4 separate regions of the Homo sapiens genome follow, and regions 2, 3 and 4 are each linked to region 1. Evidence: promoter capture Hi-C in human tissues and cell types (Jung and others, 2019). All regions are on one chromosome and are shown on one strand. The core of a region is centred on a gene start or on the middle of the fragment in contact, and the rest is flanking DNA. Distances in the headings are between cores, read along the strand shown. Region 1 holds the start of POC5 (POC5 centriolar protein). Region 2 overlaps SV2C (synaptic vesicle glycoprotein 2C). Region 3 overlaps CERT1 (ceramide transporter 1). Region 4 overlaps SV2C (synaptic vesicle glycoprotein 2C).

Region 1 (3,061 bases), core at 132-2,631:
AAATGAGAGATGAGGAAATTGAAATAGAAAAGGAAGATACAGGGAAAAGTGCAAAAATAGAATGGAAACACAGGCTGGAACTAAATTGTGGAAAGGAAAGTTCAACTTTTTCCAGTGAGTATCACTGTGCATACACATGTTAAGTAAACTAAATCTCAGCATGACTGTCTTTAGTTAAGCCAATTAGGGAGGATAAAATAAGTGCATGTATCTGCAGCAAGGAATGGCTGCTTCACTGACTTCAAATCTACCACTGTGATAACTTGGTCCATTTATATTTTTATTCACTTCTTCCTTCAGGATTTGAGACCAGGCAGGTAACAGGGGTGGGGGGGGGGGGGTGCTGATTATTTAAAAATGAGCTAGTAAGTATGGTCAGATCTCAAAAATTGTTTCTTAATATGGACACACTGCAGACACAAAAAAACCCACCGCACTCTTGGAAAATATGCTATCTTCCATCTGCCCTGCTTTATGTCAACAAGGTATGAGTTATTTGAAACTCTAGAACAGTAGCATTTTCCTTACTGTTTCTAGGTTCAGAAACAAAGGAGAAAAATGAAAACTGCTTTAATGGGTGGCGGACGCACATTAGTTCACTACATTTTCAGTAGTCTCTAATCCAAGGTATCAGAAAACAAGATCAAAACTTTTGTGTGCTTCTCTGTTGCCAGAAACATAAAATAACATCTTGGTAATTATCTGGCTGACAGCAAAACAGGGGTCTGGGAATTCAAATGGAACCCCCAAGAGGCAAAGGAAGAGCGAATTAACATGCAAACTAGCAGCAGGGTGATGTCGCCTGTGCCTTTCACCAGGCCTAGCTGCACTCAAGGAAAGGGGCGCGCCAGCCCCTCCCCAAAGCAGGGACTAGAAGCAGAGGAGAAAAGCCATTGCAGTAAGCAAAAGGCCATAAGTTTTCTTCCATCACCTTCCGACCCAGCCTGTTTTAAGAAAAATCTTACTTAAGCACAACAGAGCTTTATACATGGTTATTTTTTCTCAACGTTTTAAGTGACCGGAACCTCTGATGACAGTAATCGCTCAGCATCCCTCACTCCTGCTCACTTCCTCTTCCTGCACGCCTCGGAGGGGAAACTTTGGGACCTTCCGGCACAACAGCTGAATCACTCGCGGTCTGGGGAAGAGCCCAGGGGGAGGAAACACGCGCCAAGGAACTTTAAATCTCCCTCCACTACTTTCGCCAGGGATGCAGGGACGCAGGATCTGCCCGGAGCGCTGCTACCCACCGTCGCCGCTCGCGACCAAATCCCGACTCCTCGCTCTGCGCCTCTTAGCCGCGTCGCAGCTGCAGTGTCAGCAAGTGCAGCCTCAGCAAGCACAACCGCTACCTAGACGGCAACCTGACAGTTTCAAACTGCAGGGAGGAATTAAGGACCGCCCTGGGCATTGGTCCTTTGTTTCAGCAATCTGCCGTTTGATTGGTCCGAGAGCTGGGGGCGGGGATTTGGGCCGCTGCCGGGAGAAGCCGGAATTACTTTGGAGAGCCCCGCCCCCTGGCTCCGCAGGTTGGTAGGGGGCGGGGTCCTAGGGAGCCCCACCCAGCGCCCGTGGGGATTAAATATTGCGCGTGCTCAGTTCTGTTCAGCGGCTGCAGGCTGCTAAGCGGCTCCGGGAGCTGATTTGGATAGAGGCTGTTGAGCAGGGCTGAAGTTGGCTAATGCCGTGTGCTGTTGGCTTTCAACAATTCCGGTAACCTAGATATGAGTCCTAATGCTTTCGTCTGCATAAGAACAATCCGAAATTCTGGGCCAGGTGTGGTGGTTCATGCCAGTAATCCCGGCACTTTGGGAGGCCGAAGTGGGAGGATCGCTTGAGCCCGGGAGTTCGAGACTAGTCTGGGGAACATAGGGAGACCCTTTCTCTATAAAAAATTAAAAACAAAAAAAAAATCTGCATCATCCACAGATCCCCTGCAACAGAATCACTTGGAGGTGCTTTTTTTTTTTTTGAGATGGAGTCTTGCTCTGCCGTCCAGGCTGGTGTGCAGTGGCACTATCTCGGCTCACTGCAACCTCCGCCTCCCAGGTTCAAGGGATTCTCCTGCCTCAGCCTCCCGAGTAGCTGGGATTACAGACGACCGCCACCACGCCTGGCTAATTTTTGTATTTTTAGTAGAGATGGAGTTTCACCATGTTGGCCAGGCTGGTCTCGAACTCCTGACCTCAGGTGTTCCGCCCACCTCGGCCTCCCAAAGTGCTGGGATTACAGGCGTGAGCCACCACGCCCGGCCGAAGGTGTTGATTCCTTCGGTCATGGACACCGTCAGGAAATCTGAATTTTTAACACACACTGCCAGTGATTCTGATGCAGGAGTCTGCAGACCACCCTTTGAGAAATTGCTAGTCTAGGCTGGGCGCGTTGGCTCACGCCTGTAATCCCAACACTTTGGGAGGACGAGGCAGGCGGATCACCTGCGGTCAGGAGTTCGAGACCAGGCTGGCCAACATGGTGAAACCCCATCTCTACTAAAAATACAAAAATTAGCCGGGTGTGGTGGCTTACGCCTGTAGTCCCAGCTACTCCGAAGGCTGAGGCAGGAGAATCCCTTAAACCCAGGAGGCAGAGGTTGCAGTGAGCCAAGATATCGCCACTGCACTCCTGCCTGGGTGATAGTGAGACTCTGTCTCAAAAAACAAAGAAAAAACCAAAATTGGTAGTCTAGTTTTAACTAATCTCAAACGTGTCAGACTTCAAGATAGAGCCTTCTGGTGAAGTATTGGCCTTAGAATCAGATCATAATTATAATCTAGCTTTACCATCTACTCGCTGTCACCTTGGATAATACTACTCACATACTAAGGTGGTAGGAGATTAAAGGAATTAATATATCTAAAACACCGAACACACAAACATATAGTCTTTCAACTTACATTGGCAACAGATAGGCTAGAGGTATGAGGACCCAGATGGCAAAGGTACCTAAGTAGCCCAGACTGGGGTTCTGCAATCTGAAGAACAGATACTGAGATCTGGGTGAGTTTTCAGGCTCCCTTCTGTTACCTCCAGTATAAGGTTTCTTTTTCTGTAGATAGAAATG
Region 2 (2,979 bases), core at 64-2,563, 380 kb after region 1:
GGGATGGGAGATTGGCATTTTTTTATCTTCTCTTGCTGTGGGCTGGGAATGTTCTCCCTCCTACCATCTCTTCTTCCCCAACTCCCGCCATACACATATTTATCTGTGGAAAAGTCTCCTAATCATCCTTCAATCCTCAGCTCGAAGGTCCCTTTTCATGACACTCCACAGCTCTTTCTCAGTCTCTCCTAGGCCCCTTGCAGCTCCAGCTGTGGAGTGCGTCTCATATTATGTCATGGTGGCTGCTCTATGTGTATTTTCCTACTAGACTTTTATACCTTGAGGAAGAGGCCAAGCCACTGAGATATTTGTAACTCCTGGCACTGGACACATAGGGGCTGGAAGCATTTTAAATTATTTTTAAACCTTTTTTATTAAGGTATATTATATAGAAAGAAAAGTGCATATTTAATAAGGGTATAGCTGCCTTTTCACAAACTGAACATGTCTCTTTATAGAGCACCCATCGAAAATCAGAAAGAATATTTCTAATGCCCCAGAGGTCCCTTGCATGCTCCTTCCAGTCATAACTATCTCCCACTATCCTGACTTCAGTCCTTTGGAGGTGCTTATCAAGTTCTCCCTCTCCTGCTCTGAATTCCATTGTTCCCTGCGCAAGGTCTGAGAAGCTGCTTGGCAGAGTCTTGCTTCTGCCAGTGGACATGCGAGTGGTGTGACTGTGTCCAGAATGTTGTTTGGGTGCCCAGAACTTCCAGTCCACAAGGTAGAGGCAGAGAAAAGAGCCCCTAATTAATTGCACACTTAGCCATTGGCCCTGCAAAGCAGCTTCGCTTGTGACCAAATTCTAAGCCCCTCATGAGCAATTCTATCATTTGACCTCCATGCCTTGTCCAGAATTTCACAAAACTGTTCTTGCACGGTCCTTTAGACCTGGGCCTTATTCTTCTTATCCTCCAAATATGAACTCATTCCAGTGAATCGGAATGCAACAAACTGACTTCCAGACTGTTCAAATTTCTCCTCTATCAGCTGGCTTCTGAGCCGCAGTGATCTGGATAAAGCACATTGCATTCATCCCTCTCTCTGTACTAAATATTCTGAATTCTTATCACAAGGCCAAGAAACTCATTGGAGAACACTGGGCTCTTATCAAATTATTTTCCCCCTTGTAGACTTGCTTCTAATGTCTTTCCCTTTGACATCACTATTCCAAGGAACAGTTTTAAGGAACTTCCCATATTTATTTTAAGGATGTTGCCCATTATATTACCCGTTGCCCTATTCATTACTGTCTATTCAAGAAATGTTTTTGGAGCTGGATGCAGTAGCACACACCTGTAGTCCCTGCTACTTGGGAGGTTTAAACAGGATTGCTTGAGCTTAGGAGTTCAAGACCAGCCTGGGCAAAATGGTGAGACTCTGTAAATAAAGAAACAAACAAGTAAATAAATAAATAAATAAAATGTCTTTGGAGTTTCAGCACTATAAGAAACTGTGAGTCTCCTGAGAAATGATTTTGTTTTATCAATTAAATTCATGATGGTATAATTTTTTTCCACAGAAAACATAGATTATAAATATATAGCTGGATCAGTTTGACAGGTGTATACATCTGTGTAGCCAAAAGCATATCTCCATTACCTTAGAAAGTTCCCTGTATCCCTTTTCATTCATTGCCTCCTTTCCCAGAGACACTGTCCTAATTTTTATCACCAAAGATTGGTTTTGCTTATACTTGAAATTCAAATAAAAGGAATCATACAGTATGTACTCTTGTGTCTGTTTTCTTTTTTTTAACACCGTATTTTTGAAAAGATTCATGTTTTTTTGTGTATCAATAGTCAATTCTTTGTCATTGCTGAATGCATAGTATTACATTATATGAATATACCACAATTTGTTTCTCTGTTTATCTGTTGGTAGATGTTTGAGTTGTTTCCACATTGGAGCTATTATCAATAAAGTATCTATGAACATCCTTGTGCATGTTTTGCTATGTAATGTAGTATTCACAGGTTCTGGGGATCAAGAAGTGAATATATCTTTGGGGAACCATTTTTCTGCATACCACACCTTCTGTATATCTTCTCTGATGCAGTGTCTGTTTATATATTTTGCCATTTTTCAATTGGGTTGCTTGCTTTCTTATTGTTGAATTTTAAGAGTTCTTTGTGTATTTTGGATACCAGATATGTATTTAATCAGATATGTGTTTGCAAATATTTCCTCCTAGTGTGGCTTGTCTTTTTATACTATTGACAGTGTCTTTTGATGAAAAAGAGTTTTAAATTTTAATAAAGTCCAATTTTTCTCTTTTTTTTCCTTTCATGGATCATGCTGTTTGTGTGGTATCTAAAAATCTCACCAAAAAGCCCAAGGTTATATAGATTTCTTTCAATGTTTTTTTTCTAGAGATTTTATAGTTTTACATTTTATAATTGGGTCTATACTCCATTTTAATTTTTGTTTAAAATGAAATATATAGTTTCAGAGGCTTTTAAATTAACAGACTTTATATTTTTGAGTGGTTTATAGAAAAATTGAAAATAAAGTACAGAGTTCCCAGTTACTCCACCCTCATGAGGTCCCAGTTCTTGCATCCATGTAGTAGATTTGTCACAATTGATGAGCCATTACTGATACATTATTATTAACTGAAGTAGTAGAATTTCATTGATATGCCTCTTATTAATTAACAAATCAGTTTCTTCAATAAAGGCTATCCAGAGTTTCAGTTTCTTCTTATGTCAGCTTTAGTGTGCTGCCTTTAAAAAGAAATTTGTCAATTTTATCTGGATTGTCAAACTTATTGCATAGTTATTTATCATCATTAGTTTGTTTTTATCTTGTAGACTCTGTGATTCTTGTATCTAATTGTATTTATTTCATTGCTTTGACTTCTCAGGTCAGTCAAGTTTTTATATAGAGTCTTCCAAAGTCATGTGGCATTATCCAAAGACCTTTAAAAATATATATGAATTATTTAAGAATCATTTCTATTTCATTAGAACGTGGAAG
Region 3 (3,322 bases), core at 309-2,808, 300 kb before region 1:
ACATAATGTCAGAATGTGATTTTTACCTGCATGCCTTGGAAGATATTTTCACTTGGATTCCACCAGTTCTACTGCTTTTTAAAAAATTAATCAGGTAATTATTTCTTGTGAGTTGTTACATAACTTCTGAAAGTATATTTTATCCAGCTGAGGGGAAAAATGTATTACTTACACTTTTCTTTATTGCCGTTGGTACTATGCAAGAAGTCACCATCAGAACGCGTTGTAGGAAAGTCATCTTCATCATCTTCTACCACTAAATAAAATATATTTAAGGAAATTAGGATGAAAAGAAATAGAAATTAATGTCTATTCTTATGTTCAACTGAGTCATTTTACTCTGGATTCTGATTCTGAGTATGAAGTCTTACTCATCTTTGTATTTTCACTGGTAATCAAGGTATGCTCAATAAATATCTACCTATCAAGGAACTTTTAAAGAACAAAATCTTAATCTCTCTCTCTCCCCTCAACCCCTGAATATTCTCATTTAGTGAGACTATGGAGAAGGGTATGATACAATTATTTCTTTTTAAAGCTCCCCGAGATGATTACAGTATCAGCCATCTATTTATTTTTGCCACCCAAATATGTGGAATGTCTTTAGATACATTATTTTTAAACCATATTCACTCTCATTTGTGTAAGGGAAGGTTACTGAGTTATGAATTATTTCACCCTGTAGTCTTCCTATCTCTTGCTCCCTTCCGTGGGGCCATTTCCACTCTGTAAGAGGACCAGAAGGGCTGAACAGGACTATAAGGGTGCCTTCTATGCAGAAGACACCTTAGCTTGCCTCTAAGAGTTGTTCTTTTTTTTTTTTTTGTAGATGGAGTCTCACTCTGTCACCCAGGCTGGAGTGCAATGGCATGGTCTCGGCTCACTGCAACCTCTGCCTCCTAGGTTCAAGCAATTCTTCCACCTCAGCCTCCCAAGTAGCTGGGACTACAGGTGCGTGCCACCACAGCCAGCTAATATTTTTGTATTTTTAGTAGAGAAGGGGTTTCACTATGTTGGCCAGGCTGGTTTCGAAACTCCTGGCCTCATGATCCGCCCACCTCGGCCTCCCAATGTGCTGGGATTACAGGTGTGAGTGACCACACCCAGGCGAGAGTTCTTATATATACTATTTCTGATGTGCAAGGAAAATATAATGACTTGCAGATATGATATCGACTGTTTTTTTTTTTTTTGAGGCGGAGTCTTGCTCTGTCGCCCAGGCTGGAGTGCAGTGGCGCGATCTCGGCTCACTGCAAGCTCCACCTCCCGGGTTCACACCATTCTCCTGCCTCAGCCTCCCGAGTAGCTGGGACTACAGGCGCCTGCCACCATGCCTGGCTAATTTTTTGTATTTTTAGTAGAGACGGGGTTTGACCATGTTAGCCAGGAATCCGGTCTCAATCTCCTGACCATGATATCAATTTTCATTCATCCCAGGCTGTATCTGTATCCAGGCATCCCTTTTCTCTAATTCCAGACAAAAACAGAATCTCTCTTGTTCTACTTTAACATACCTCTTTCTTCTATGTGCTATCCCTTTTTCTACTACGCCACATGCTTTAATTCTCTGTACTACGCATTCCACTCATAATGCAAATTCCTGCATCTTAGTTCCCAACATTATTTGCTGCTTTTATCAAGCTTTTTGTGGCTTCTTCTTCTTCTTGTTTGTGAGACAGGGTCTGGCTCTGTTGCCCAGCCTGGAGTGCAGTGGCACAATCTCAGCTCACTGCAACCTCCACCTCCCAGGCTCAAGCAATCCTACTCAGCCCCTTGAGCAGCTGGGAACACAGGTGCACACCACCAGCCCAGCTAATTTTTGTAGAGATGAGGTTTTGCCATGTTGCCCAGGCCGGTTTCAAACTCCTGAGCTCAAGCAATCTGCCCACCTCTGCCTCTCAAAATGCTGGGATTACAGGTGTAAGCCACTGCACCCAGCCTACATGGCTCCTTTATCTTTTCAGGAACTCCCTTTATAAAGAAGGAATCTACATTTTAAACTAATGTCTTACTTACTGCATGTATCTTTTTACATCAGGAGCACCGTGGCTCTATAAGGAACATCTCATCTATCTTAGCTGTCTTTTTTATGGATGCAGAGCCCAATTCGATACCTTATTTCCCTTCTTTGATTAAATGGTAGGAATCACCATGGAAAATCTTCTGTACTGCCATTTTCTAATTACTGGACTATTTCATTTTTTTATAACCACTTGAAAATGTTGTCAATCATCTATAACAACTCTTACAAATCATAAACTATTATCTATTAATACCCTGTATTCATTTCTACCTGGCTGTGATCTCAATATTCAATTCTTTTTCTTTTCCACTTCCATCATTCCTACAGACTTCAATATGAGCATATCTTGATTACCAGTGAAAATACAAAGATGAGTAAGATCTCATATGCTCAATAAATATGCTGTGCAATGTCTTTAGATACATTATTTTTAAACCATACTCAGATAAAAAATCATGCTGACCATCAGTTGAAGTTATAATACGACTATTCCTAAATTAGTCCCCTGGCATAATCCCATAAAGATGACCTTCAAGTACCTTTTGAGATCCTTACTTCCCGGGGCCTTTTCAAATTTCCCTACTTTTTTGCATCATATCAATGAAAAGTTAAAACAGTTTGTTACTCACTCTTCAACTCTACCTTCATGCATTCTTTTCTACAGAAGCAGGAGATATTTCATTTGCTCTAGATTTGACCTATTCTCACAATTTAAAGGAGTTGTTTTCTTGGAAAACTCAAAAGCCTTCTGTACAATATTTGTTTTCCCCTTTCTGCTGTGCTTTCCTTCTGCCTTCAGAAGGCTTGTTTATAATGCTAGCTCATACTTCTACTAGAGAGGGTATCCACATATCAAGGAACTTTTGATTATCTACCTATCAAGGAACTTTTAAAGAACAAAACGTTAATCTCTCTCTCTCCCCTCAACCCCTGAATATTCTGGTTTAGTGAGACTATGGTGAAGGGTATGATACAATTATTTCTTTTTTAAAGCTCCCCGAGATGATTACAGTATCAGCCAGACATCTATTTATTTTTGCCACCCAAATATTTCTCAGCCACCAGCACATTAAATCTTCCTCTCAAACTACCCCTTTACCATAACCTTCCACCTCCAAAACAGACACAAAATAGCTTTTTCAGGCTGGGCGTGGTGGCTTATGCCTGTAATCCCAGCACTTTGGGAGGCAGAGGCAAGCAGACTGCTTGAGCTCAGGAGTTTGAGACAAGCCTGGGCAACATGGCAAAACCCTGTCTCTACAAAAAATACAACAATTAGCTGGGCATGGTGGTGCACAT
Region 4 (2,967 bases), core at 342-2,841, 470 kb after region 1:
TCAAACAAACAAACAAAGACATTTAATTGACTCGCAGTTCCACAGGGATGGGGAGGCCTCAGGAAACTTACAATCATGGTGGAAGGCACCTCTTCACAGGACAGCAGGAGAATGAGCACTGACCAAAGCGGGAAGCCCCTTATAAAATCATCAGATCTCATGAGAACTCACTCACTATCATGAGAACAGAATGAGGGAACCACCCCTATGATTCAATTATTTCCACCTGGTACTGCCCTTGACACATGGGGATTATTACAATTCGAGGTAAGATTTGGGTGGGGACACAGAGCCAGAGCATATCACCACTTTTCTCCCTCAGCACAGAACTTGGAGTAGGAGAACCTCGCAAGGGATGGGGATCCCATTGGTGTTAAACTGATATGCGATGTCCATGGTACACCACAAGGTGATTCGCTTTAATGTTCTTGATTCCTAAGACTTTTAAAAAATTGCTTCAAATAACAAGGGGGCCTGCAGAGCCATACATGCACAAAACACTGTAATGTCTCCTCCCCTGTCTGATGGGCATGCTGTACAACAGCCATTTGAGGAACGACATTAGAGAATAGATTGGGCTTCATTATTAGGCCTCTTCTTCTACAGTTTGCTCATTGGATTCAGGAAAACTGTCTTAGGCCCGCATGTGCTTTTTAGTGCCCAGGTGAACTTAGGTAACAAGTAGCACTATTGCTTGACATGGCATTATCTGCCCATGTTTGGTCTCTGCTTGGACCAGCAAACTTAAATGTCAGACTTCCCTAAGGTAAAAGTCAAAGATATGCTATAGACTGCATCTGATATTTACAGTTCTTTCTAGCTAAGAAGAGCTGGCTTTTGTGGTAAATATTCTCTCATGCAAATTAGAAAGGTTTTCCCCCCTTTGTACATATGCCTTTGATGTTATTACTTTCTTTGCTTTTATTTGATTTTGTGAAAGTCCACAGATGCTTTTGAACACATAATGGCCCCTACTTGTGGCTACTAAAAATAGTAATTGAAAAAGTGAGGGATCAGTTTTAGAAGCCTATTAATTATGTATTTAAATAGTTTCAAATTGCAAAAAAAAAAAAAAATATGTCTTAGGGATTTAGAAAATTACTCTTTCAGTGCTGTTTCAGGTATCTTCTTTTCAGAACTTGAGTTAAGGAAGGTGAAAAGTTGTCATTCCACTTTTTCTACCATTCCAGATCCATCTTCTTTAATTCCTGCTTTTTCTTTTCCATCACTATTTTATTTCTCCGCTTTTCTCTTTACGTGATGCCAATAGTAATATTAATAATTGTTGGTCGGGTGCAGTGACTCATGCCTGTAATCCCAGCACTTTGGGAGCTAAGGGCAGGTGGATTGCTTGAGCTCAGGAGTTAGAGACCAGGCCTGGGCAATATGGTGAAACCCCATCTCTACGAAAAATACAAAAAATTAGCTGGACATGGTGGCACGCACCTGTAGTCCCAACTATTTGGGAGGCTGAGGTAGAAGGATCACTTGAACCTGGGAGACAGAGGTTGCAGTGAGCTGAGATCATGCCCCTGCACTCTAACCTGGGTGACAGAGTGAGACCCCCTCTCAAAAATAATAATAATAATTGTTGCTTATTGGACAACTGTGTGTTTTACACAGTACTAAGCACTTTATCTCATTTAATCTCTCAAAACCCTGTGAAGTAGGTACTGTTATTAGCCCCACTATACAGAGGAGAAAACTGAGGCAGCACAAGGAACTTAAGTAACTCTAGGTCACACAGCTAGGAACTGGTTGGGGAAGGGTTCAGATCTAAGCCATCTGTTTTAAGAGCCCAGGCTCTTAACTATTTGCTACCTGACCCAAAGTTCAGAGTGGTAAATGGTAGTAGAATGAAGACTAAGCATACTGCATTTGATTTAAAAAATAATAAAGTTATTTTTCCCCCATCTTAACCCCCATTACTTTAATAATGGATTCACTTCTCAGCACTATTAATGAAAGAATTTAATAGAACAAGTACTGAGCTTGAGATTTCATGCTATCATTTCTAATCAGACACAGAATTTGTAACCAGTAATGACAAAAAATAGCAAATTGTGGATAACAAGGAGATGTTACAGCCTACTTAGCATCTTGGGTGGGGGGCAGGGACAGCTGGAGAGGGACAGTGGTCCCTGGAGTCAGCCTTCTATGGACTCTGATGGAGTCTGGCCAAGGGAAGACCACACTCAGCCAACCATTTTGGGGTTCCAGGAGCAGGGACAACAGGGCAGCAGCTGTGAAAGCTTACACCTCAGTGATTAGGTGGGGAGGGTCCATAAGAGGCCAAAAAGGGAGAGAGGCACCCCACTCCCACCCCCATGCACACAGAAAGGAAAGGCTGGGCCAACTTTGCAGGACTGACTGACCCAACATCTAGCCCAAACCAAGCATTTGACACAGGCGGAAGCTAGAAGACTGGCCTGAGATCTTAAGTATAGTTAGAGGGAGACTAGAGCTAGTCCAGGGTACCTTGGCACCTTTGTCCAAGGATTTTTCTAGCATAAAATGAAAAAAAAAATGACTCTTTGAGGAAATAGGAGAGACGGAGCTTACACTGATGTGTAAGCTTTCACAGCTGCTGCCCTGTTGTCCCTGCTCCTGGAACCCCAAAATTGTTGGCTGAGTGTGGTCTTCCCTTGGCTTCCTAGAATTGACCTTAAGAGGATATCATTTTCAGTGTTGCCTTTGGTAATAAAACAAACCAATTTGCAGTGACTATTCCAGTAGCTGATTTCTTTAAGCACAAAGCATACTTTTAGGGGTCTTCAGAGGCATGGTAGAAACCCCCTTACCTGACTAAATCAGGTCTGGTAATTAGTTGGTTAGTAGAAAAGTTGGTAAATGCAGGAAAACATGCAAAAATATAAATATGTATGTAAATATGGTGTTTTAACCTATAAGCATACATTCGTTTGATCATCTTTGGATGCAGAGTGAGAGATTTTTCCTTTGAGTTGG

Evidence for each region. Contacts are between HindIII fragments. The study calls those that stand out against the background at their distance.
Region 2: a contact is called between a fragment that was not itself captured here and the fragment with the promoter of POC5 in region 1, in 2 of the 25 tissues and cell types used here (mesendoderm cells and thymus).
Region 3: a fragment that was not itself captured here is called in contact with the fragment with the promoter of POC5 in region 1 in 2 of the 25 tissues and cell types used here (bladder and thymus).
Region 4: a fragment that was not itself captured here is called in contact with the fragment with the promoter of POC5 in region 1 in 1 of the 25 tissues and cell types used here (H1 embryonic stem cells).

Annotation. Positions count from the first base shown.
Region 1 is chr5:75,716,056-75,719,116 of GRCh38, forward strand. POC5 (POC5 centriolar protein) reads right to left here and starts at 1,382. Exons shown (of 12, transcript NM_001099271.2): 1 at 1,251-1,382. It overlaps LOC441087 (a long non-coding RNA gene), which reads left to right and starts at 1,377. Exons shown (of 3, transcript NR_149046.1): 1 at 1,377-1,529. RefSeq lists an enhancer at 778-1,087. The HindIII fragment of the contact is 10,988 bases long and covers 1-3,061 here.
Region 2 is chr5:76,092,692-76,095,670 of GRCh38, forward strand. The region is part of intron 1 of SV2C (synaptic vesicle glycoprotein 2C); the gene reads left to right. Among named protein-coding and RNA genes, the nearest start is that of SV2C-AS1, 11 kb to the left of the region's middle. The HindIII fragment of the contact is 6,115 bases long and covers 1-2,979 here.
Region 3 is chr5:75,419,169-75,422,490 of GRCh38, forward strand. CERT1 (ceramide transporter 1) reads right to left here. Exons shown (of 17, transcript NM_001379029.1): 6 at 173-256. Among named protein-coding and RNA genes, the nearest start is that of HMGCR, 84 kb to the left of the region's middle. The HindIII fragment of the contact is 7,507 bases long and covers 1-3,322 here.
Region 4 is chr5:76,186,690-76,189,656 of GRCh38, forward strand. The region is part of intron 2 of SV2C (synaptic vesicle glycoprotein 2C); the gene reads left to right. Among named protein-coding and RNA genes, the nearest start is that of SV2C-AS1, 100 kb to the left of the region's middle. The HindIII fragment of the contact is 3,512 bases long and covers 1-2,967 here.